Linked DNA regions of Homo sapiens: region 2 is linked to region 1. Evidence: promoter capture Hi-C in human tissues and cell types (Jung and others, 2019). All regions are on one chromosome and are shown on one strand. Each heading gives the region's core, a stretch centred on a gene start or on the middle of the fragment in contact. The rest is flanking DNA. Distances are from core to core; before and after follow the strand shown.

Region 1 (4,327 bases), core at 1,359-3,858:
GCCACTGCACTCCAGCCTGGGCGACAAAGTGAGACTCTGTTAAAAAGAAAAAAAAAAAAAAAAAAGAAAAGAAAAGAAAAGAAAAAAAGAAAGAAAGAAAGAAAGAAAAAAAGACAAAAAAACTCCTGAGCTTTAAGTTTTCCAGTCCCAAAACAAACAAACAAAAAACCCCCAAACAAACAAAAATCCTCACCCCATACAACCTGCCCATTTTTTCCCCCTACATGTTGCACAGCACAGCACAGGCTGGGGACTGTGATTCGAAGGTGAGTAGCTGGACGGCTGAAGGCTGATGTTAAATTTATCCCCCCAGAATTCGAACCCCTTGCTCCATCCGTAACAGTGAGATCGTTGGCAAATTAGTTTTGATGTCTCAATCTCTTCTTCTGTAAGATATGGGATAATATTACTATTTACCATATGTGTACAGATCTGTGAATAGATGCCTGGCATACAGTAATTTCCCAATAAATATTTGCTGATAATTTCTGTTTCTTAGCAGCATCATTCAAACTGCTGAAATATTTTCTTTAAAAAAAAATCAAAGGTCCTTCTGAGATAGTATTGGGATATAAAGATAAACGTGACAAAAACATTTGTGCTTCAAAGGGGAACCAGTATAAAGCCATAAAGCCCACTTTCTTCTGCTGAATAGAATGAGTTTGGGGACAGGGACAACGCCTTAAAATGGGTCAACGCGCGGACGCGAGGGGGCACTGTGAGTCCGCTTTGGCGAGGGAGAGGCGGCGGCCCGCGCGGGGCGGGGAGGGCTGCGCCCTTCCAGCATCCCAGCGCCCAGGAGCTTCGCCACCTACCAGGGTCCGAGACCTTAACTCGGTTCCGGAAAGGGCGTCCCGGGTGACCCAAGTTTGGGGCCACAAGCAGCTCCACCGGCTCTCCGCGTTGGTCTCTCCCCTCCCCCTAAGCAGACAGTCCTTTCTGCCAGCTGTCCTTAATTTGAGATTCGTGAGTCCCGGGGTTTGGGAAACCAGAACCCCCCTGCGACTGTAGGGAACGTTTTGGGTGCGCCTATGTCGGGTATTTTCCTGGGCAAAAGGACAGAAGCTGTCATCTGATTCTTTAAGGGGTTCGTGTCCCAAGAGGGGGTTAAGCTCTCTTGGTTTAGGATAAGAGGGCCCACCTAACCACCCACCCAAATGCCAAACACACAGCAGGTCGAGAAACGACTCTGAAATCACTCCTTGTCCACTTCCCAAGGTCGGGCGAGAGACTGGCACGCCCCACGGGCAATCTTCAGAAAAAAAGGTCAGATCTGGTCCTTAAACAGCTCAGGTGCGAAGCTGAATCGCCCTTCTGCGGAAAGAGAGGAGACAGTACCTGCCCCCGCCGTCCCTCACTTCCCTTAGTCCCAAGAAGAGGTCAGACACCGGGAAATGGGGCCCAGGCGCTTGGTCTGTTCCACCTGCCACTCGAGTCCCCAGTCCCAAGAGGCTGCTCAGACATTGGCATGATGGGGAAACTCGATTGATTTTGTTACCTCCTAGAGGGAAAATGCCGTGGGCGGAGATGTCTGAGCGTCCCTTCCAACACGAGCTGGGTGGTGCTCTATTGATTTTCACGCGATCCCCGGGCGGGAGCGAGAGGATAGGCTCGGATTCCCGGGCTCCAGGACCGAACGCCTGGCAGTGTCCCCGGGGGCAAAGCCACCCCGGGAGCCCGTGCAGTATACTAGGTGGGGGGCCCGGAGAGAAAGCATAGCGCCGACGAGGGGGAGGGGCCGGGCAGAAAGGAGGGTGGGGTACCGGGTGGGACACACTGACCTAGGAGAAAGTACAACCCACCCCAAACTTTCGCAGACCCGGGAGCTTAGGAAGGGAGAGCCAGGAAGACAGCAGCCTCTCCTGCCGCCCAACGTGCCCAGCTGCAGCGAGGAGGGGCGGCGCGCAAGCCGGCTGGACCCGGGCGGTCCCCACGTTGCGCCCACCCTCCGGGCCAAAACGCCGCCGCTCGGGTCACTGAGTGGCCGCCCACGGAAGAAGTCAGATCGCCGGGCTCTGGGCTGCGTACGGGATCCGAGGAAGGGGGATTCAAACGCGGATCCGGAAGGAAGGGACACTGAACCCCGCAGCGTCCCCAGCGCCGTGGGGCGGCGGGACGTGTCCTTGGGCTGCCAGCGGGCGCGGAAGCTGGAGTCCGGCAGGGTCGGGAAGAAGTGAGCACAGACTTCCACGGGTAGAAGAGTCAGATTAAACAGAAATGTGAAAAGCAACCCAGGGCAGCCAACGGAGCCCAGCAGCGTAGAAGCCACCGGCTTCCCGCCGGGAGGACTACAGTGACTGACACTCGCGAAGACTAGGCGCTCCCAGCGGCCGCGGGTCTGCGTGGAGAAGTCGCCTCGCGGCGCGGAGCGCGCCAGCGGCGGCGGCGGCTGCCAGAGCGCGAGATGCGGCGCGCAGCCGCCGGACCGTCCCGGCTGGGAAAACTCGCGGGCGGCACTGCGCAGCGCTGACCCGGCGCAGGTCCGAGGGGTGTGCCCCGGCCCCTCCCGTCTCCGCCCCCTCCCGCGCCAGTCGCGCGCCCCTCCCCGCGGCGGCAGCGTCGGCGGCGCATCCAGGGGCGGCGCGGAGCCTTGCTCAGCCCAGCAGCCAGTGCCTGCGAGCTCCGCTGCTGCTTGGGGAATTCACTTTGCTGCTTGTTCGCTTCTCCCTTCCTCAGGCTTCTTCTGATGGTTTTCCGTCTCCTGCCCGAGCCTTTCCTTTAAAAGGAAAACTTTACTGCGATACCCTTTTCCCCTTGGAGGAGAGGATTAAAAGTTCCAAGAACTGGTGCCGCCCGTGCCATTTGGGCGCTGGGAAGGTGCTCGGCGGCGGGGTTCCCGGTCCCACCATGTGCACCAACATAGTTTACGAGTGGCTCAAAGCGCTGCAGCTTCCGCAGTACGCGGAGTCCTTCGTGGATAACGGCTACGATGACCTGGAGGTGTGCAAGCAGATCGGGGACCCGGACCTGGATGCCATCGGGGTGCTGGCGCCCGCGCACCGCCGCCGTATCCTGGAGGCCGTGCGCCGGCTGCGGGAGCAGGACGCCAACGCCGCCGGCCTCTACTTCACGCTTGAGCCGCAGCCGGCGCCCCCCGGGCCGCCCGCCGACGCCGTCCCCACCGGCCGCCGGGGGGAGCCGTGCGGCGGCCCGGCCCAGGGCACCCGCGGGGACTCTCGCGGCCACACGACCGCCCCCCGCAGCAGGGAGCTGGTGAGCTACCCCAAACTGAAGCTGAAGATCATGATCAGGGATAAGCTCGTCCGTGACGGCATCCACCTGAGCAAGCCCCCGTACTCCCGCAAGGTAAGGAGGTGCCGTCCGGGCGGCCCGGGGCGCGCGGCGGGAGGGGACACAGCCCAGCTGCCTGTGCCAAGGCTTTGCAACCCATTCCAGGTGACGACGGAGAGGCCAGGAGGCTTTGGGTATCTGGGACCCTTTTCTATGTTCTTTCTGTATTAGCCCATTATTTCGTCCTTCCTGGTGTCTCCAGTGGTTGGTAAGACAAGCCCCCGCATCCAGATGTTATCTCTAAACTAACGACCAAAACTCCGCATCCTCTCTGGTGCTCGCCTGTCAGGAATCGGACTCGCGCTGCTTCACCTGGTAGCCAGGGGGAATTCCTAACGCCCTCTATAGTAGTTTTGGGTTTGAAGAGTACCAGAAAAAATGGTTAATACCTACATTGCTTTCTACCTTCCTTTTTCTCTTTCTTTTCCTTTTTTGAGTCTTGAGAAACTCCTAAGGGAAATCGGTGAACTCTTTAAAGAGTGGAAAGTCAGGCCCTGCCTTTCTCAATTCCATAAAAAATCCCAGCGCTGCTGCAAATTTGAGAAGCTTACCATTCACATGAGCATTTTAAGAGGAAAAGTGAAGGAAGCACGTGTCAGTCCACTTGAGATGATTTCCTAAACTTGTGTATACTGGAGGCAATAAGGTGCTAAGGACATCAGAGATAATCGGGCCACAGGATGTGCTTCAGAGGTCTGGGCTGTCACGAGTTTGGTTTATTATTAAGCCAGATAAGATGAAGTAGGTACAACTGTGACTTCCAGGAAGTGTGAGTGGACCTGCATTTGGGAGAGGAGGACCGAGCACAAGTGAACTAAAGGGGAATCCTCTGCACCGGGGGCCTCAGGGAAGGAACCTGGAAGTTCCGAAATGTGGAGTGGGAGCTGGGTAATTAACAGAAAATGGTACTTCACACCAGAGCTCTGCTTCTAGCTGCGAGTCTGTTCCGTTTAGGTTTCTAGTTCAGGCGGCTGTCGGAGTAGAGGGTCCTGACTTGATAGAGAAGTAGACAGCACAGGTAACGCTCAGGATTGCA
Region 2 (4,327 bases), core at 1,353-3,852, 730 kb after region 1:
TCTGTTTGACACCAAAGTCCATGCTCTTACTCGGTATGATCTGGACAAGAGTTGTAGTGGCAGATAGAGGAAAAGAAATTAATATGAAAGATCACATCAAGGAAAAGGGACAGGAGCCATTGAATTGGCTGAATGTTGTCATTGACTAAGAGTATGTTACCAAAGATGAGTTTGAGGTTTCAAGCTTTAATAAGTAGGAGAGAAGGGAGGATTTATTAATAAGAATATGGAAGGCAATAGGTAAAACAGGTTTTGGTGGATGTGAAAAACAAGCTCATCCATTCAACAGGCAACTGTCGATATTCAGACTTGGGCTCGGGCCTACTGGCTCAAGAAGACATGGTTTGATCCTTCTTCTAGGTGAGTCAAGGATAACTGATTCTGAGGCTCTGAACCTGAAGTTCTAGGGAACAGAAGTAAGATTAACAGAAAGATAATCTGAAAGGAGACACTCTTTGGGGAAGAAACTGATACTCGGTGTTGTCGGGTATGTTAAATTTGAGCTGACAGTAAAACATGCAACTATGCAGAAGACAATTAAGATGTGGGACAGAGCCTTAGATGAGTAGATGGGATTGGCCCTCAAGAGGTGGCTGAAGACAAAGTATTAAATCTCTAAGCCAAAGATTGTGAGGAAGGAAAATCAGAGGACTTGGCACTTAGCTTTTCATCCTACAACCCCACTGTGCATCACCTAAAACTTGCAATGTGTACCTCAAAGATTTCCTAAAGTCAGTGCCCACGAGAAACTAGCTTTTAGTGTTTCTTTATTCAGAACTCTGAGCCTGGCACCTGGCAGAGAGCTTTTATATATAGTACATTATCTGGTATATGTAACAAAGATTGTATGCAGTTGGTATTCTCTCCAGTATATAGATGAGGAAACTGAAATTCAGAGAGGTTAAATAGTGAAGGAGGCCAAGGTGGGCGGATCACCTGAGATCGAGAGTTCAAGACCAGCCTGGCCAACATGGAGAAACCCCGTCTCTACTAAAAATACACAATTAGCCGGCGTGGTGGTACATGCCTGTAGTCCCAGATACTCGGGAGGCTGAGGCAGGAGAATTGCTTGAACCCAGGAGGCGGAGGTTGCAGTGAGCCGAGATCGCGCCATTGCACTCCAGCCTGGGCAACAAGAGAGAAACTCCATCTTAAAAAAAAAAAAAAAAAAATAGTGAAGCACAGCCAAGGGTAGAGCGAAGATTGAGACCCAGTCTGTCTGACACCGAAGTTCATGCTCCTTTCAGTACTGCAAAGCACCATGCTGTAGGGCTTTGCCCTCTCATCTGCCAGAGAAAGAGGGGGAAGCTTTCAAGCAGACCAGAACCTTCACCCACCCAGTGTCCACCTTTTTTCCTTTCTTCTTTCTCTCTTTTTATTCTTTCATACGTTCATATCGTTGAAAAATGTATATTGTGTATGTACTATGTGCCAATCATTGGTGATACAGGTAGGAACAAGAATCAACTCCTGCTTTCATGGTGCTTACAGAGAAGAGATAATTAAAGACATTAAGCAATGAATTACATGTTAATTAAAACTATCTAAATCAGCCAGGCATAGGGGCTCACGCCTGTAATCGCAGCACTTTGGGAGGCCAAAGAGGGAGGATTGCTTGAGGTCATGAGTTTGAGACCAGCTTAGGCAACACAGGGAGCTATGATGGCAGCTTCCTCTCTACAAAAAAAAAAAAAAAAAAAAATTAGCTGGACATGGTGGCACACACCTGCATTCTTAGCTACATGGGAGGCTGAGATGAGAGGATCTCTTGAGCCCAGGAGTTTGAGGCTGCAGTAAGCGATGATGGCACCACCGCACTCCAGACTGGGTGACAGAGTGAGACTCTGTTTCCAAAAAAAAAAAACTAAATGTTCCTCCCTTTATGTGATCCACAGAGAAAAAGAAAAAAATACTAGAAAAAGAGAGGAAGTGAGCATTTGCTGTGAAATGAGTACCACTTAGGTTTTTTTTGGGTGGGGATAGGGATACAATTTGAGACAGGGTCTCACTCTGTAGCCCAGGCTGGAGTGCAGTGGTGCCCTCATAGATCACTGCAGCTTTAAACTCCTGGGCTCAAGGAATCCTCTCACCTCAGCCTCCAGTGTAGCTGGGACCACAGGCACTGGCTTCACCATGCCCAGCCTACCACTTAGGCTAATTGCAGTATCCTAAGCTTGCCTTAGAATTACTATTTCTATTGAAAAGTACATTCTGAGTTGCAGTCCCTTTAAACCATCTCTTTAAAAAGCTAGCAAACTTAGCAAAGCTTTTTTTTTTTAGTTGATTCAAGTGTTAAGTTTGAATGTCATTGTGTGTGTGTGCATGTGTGTGTTTATACTGAATATCCGTATTTGGCTTCTATCACTGAGGTTTCTGCAAAGCATCTAGGGCTTGGCAGGATCCCTTCCTTTGCTCAGGGCATATCTGGGCTAGTCTGAGTTAACTTGGGGTGGGGAGGTGAGGATAAGAAGAAGGAGGAACTGGCCGGGCGTGGTGGCTCACACCTGTAATGCCAGCACTTTGGGAGGCCAAGGCAGGTAGATAACCTGAGGTCAGGAGTTCGAGACCAGTCTGGCCAACATGAGGAAACCCCATCTCTATTAAAAATACCAAAAATTAACCAGGCGTGGTGGCAGACACCTGTAATCCCAGCTACTCAGGAGGCTGAGACAGGAGAATCGCTTGAACCCGGGAGGCGGAGGTTGCAATGAGCCGAGACTGCGCCATTGCACTCCAGCCTGGGCAAGAAGAGCGAAACTCCGTTTCAGAAAAAAAAAAAAAAGAAGGAGGAGGAGGAACTGAAAGCTCAGGCCAAGAAGCTGGAGAACCTGGTGGGGTCTGAAAATGCTTATTCTCTAACATCAGAAATATTATCTAAAATGTACCCGTAATGGGTCTGTGGGCTGTCTTCGGTCCCAGGTGAAGTAGAATAGTATCCATTTTGGGATAATCTGATAACAAGCACCAACAATACATGGATTCTCCCTCCTCCTTGCTCAATACCGCCATTCTATGATTTTGGCTCAGAAGTTTAATAAAAACAATGGTCTACACCCCAGGAGCACTTGCGTCATAACGTGTCAATGGTAATCACATAACCAAACCCAATTCTGCAAAGAACGTAAGTGTTAAAAGACAATTGGTGTATGTGTATGGTGGAGGTGGATGGGGGTTGTAGGTAGATTAACAGCCCCTGATTGCTGACCTTATCTTATCATGTCATCTTAATCATTTGGCGTTAATCTCCTCAAATGTATTTAACTCACTGAAAGAAAAGACAAAATCAGAAAAATAAAATATCTCTAATCAAAAAGATATTTTCTGTTACTATCACTCCTTATTGTCCTTTTTAACCTACTCAATCATGGAGGCATAGCTAACACTATTATTTTTTCAGCATGATTATTTTCCACAGTATATGTTAAATTGATTAGAAACTGTATAATTTTTAAAATATGTATTTGTGCGTGGTTTTACATGTCTAAATTATACATGAACTCAGCAGTTTCCAGGATATAATAACATGTCCAGGAGCCCTATGGTTGGCTCTTACACATATATTTTGATGAGTCAAACCTACAGCTCCTTGTATTTCAGCCCACTTACTCACAGGGACCAGTACAAACATGTTTGTAGCAATGCTATTCAGTAAATAATTGTAGATGCAAAGAGTTGGAGAAGTCTTGCGAGTTAAGACCTTGACTCTCACAAGAACTCCTACTCTTCCACAATGGCCTTAAATTTTCCCCTTGGCTAGTTACACGTTATTTCTAGAACCTCTATTTTAAGTTTACTGGTGGACAAAGTCAATCAAACCTTATCGTGTCTCTCACTATTAAGGAAAATGTAAAACATACATGCAGAGACACTGTAGGCTAGTTTTCTTCTTATATTTTAAAATTCCTTCTTTGTGTTCAAGGACTCTGAAGGACCCTGTTCATTCATTATGAATATTAGGATTCAGAAAATAATGGTCTAATACAAGGACTCTTGGAGACTTCATAGCACCTTGGGGTTTGCATTTGCATGGCAAGGAGGGGTGTGGGTAGGAAATGGTGGCATGCAGGAAACTATCCCAAGCTATTCCAGAGGTCAGGGAACAGGAAGGAACACAGACTAAATTGGGCTGCTTAAATCACACAGTTTATTAAATTAAATTTTTTTTTTTTTTGAGATGGACTCTTGCTCTGCCACCCAGGCTGGAGTGCAATGGCACGATCTCGGCTCACTGCAACCTCTGCCTCTGAGTTCCAGTGATTCTCCCGCCTCAGCCTCCTGAGTAGCTGGGATTACAGGCACCCACATCATGCCTGGCTAATTTTTGTAT

What was found. The method cuts DNA at HindIII sites, captures the fragments that hold promoters and counts their contacts. A contact is called where the count stands out against the background at its distance.
Region 2: a contact is called between a fragment that was not itself captured here and the fragment with the promoter of SAMD5 in region 1, in 1 of the 25 tissues and cell types used here (aorta).

The regions. Positions count from the first base shown.
Region 1 is chr6:147,506,082-147,510,408 of GRCh38, forward strand. It overlaps SAMD5 (sterile alpha motif domain containing 5), which reads left to right and starts at 2,609. Exons shown (of 2, transcript NM_001030060.3): 1 at 2,609-3,306. The coding sequence starts at 2,848. RefSeq lists a silencer at 761-810. The HindIII fragment of the contact is 17,257 bases long and covers 1-4,196 here.
Region 2 is chr6:148,232,062-148,236,388 of GRCh38, forward strand. It overlaps a transcript of SASH1 not described here. Among named protein-coding and RNA genes, the nearest start is that of SASH1, 110 kb to the right of the region's middle. The HindIII fragment of the contact is 5,038 bases long and covers 84-4,327 here.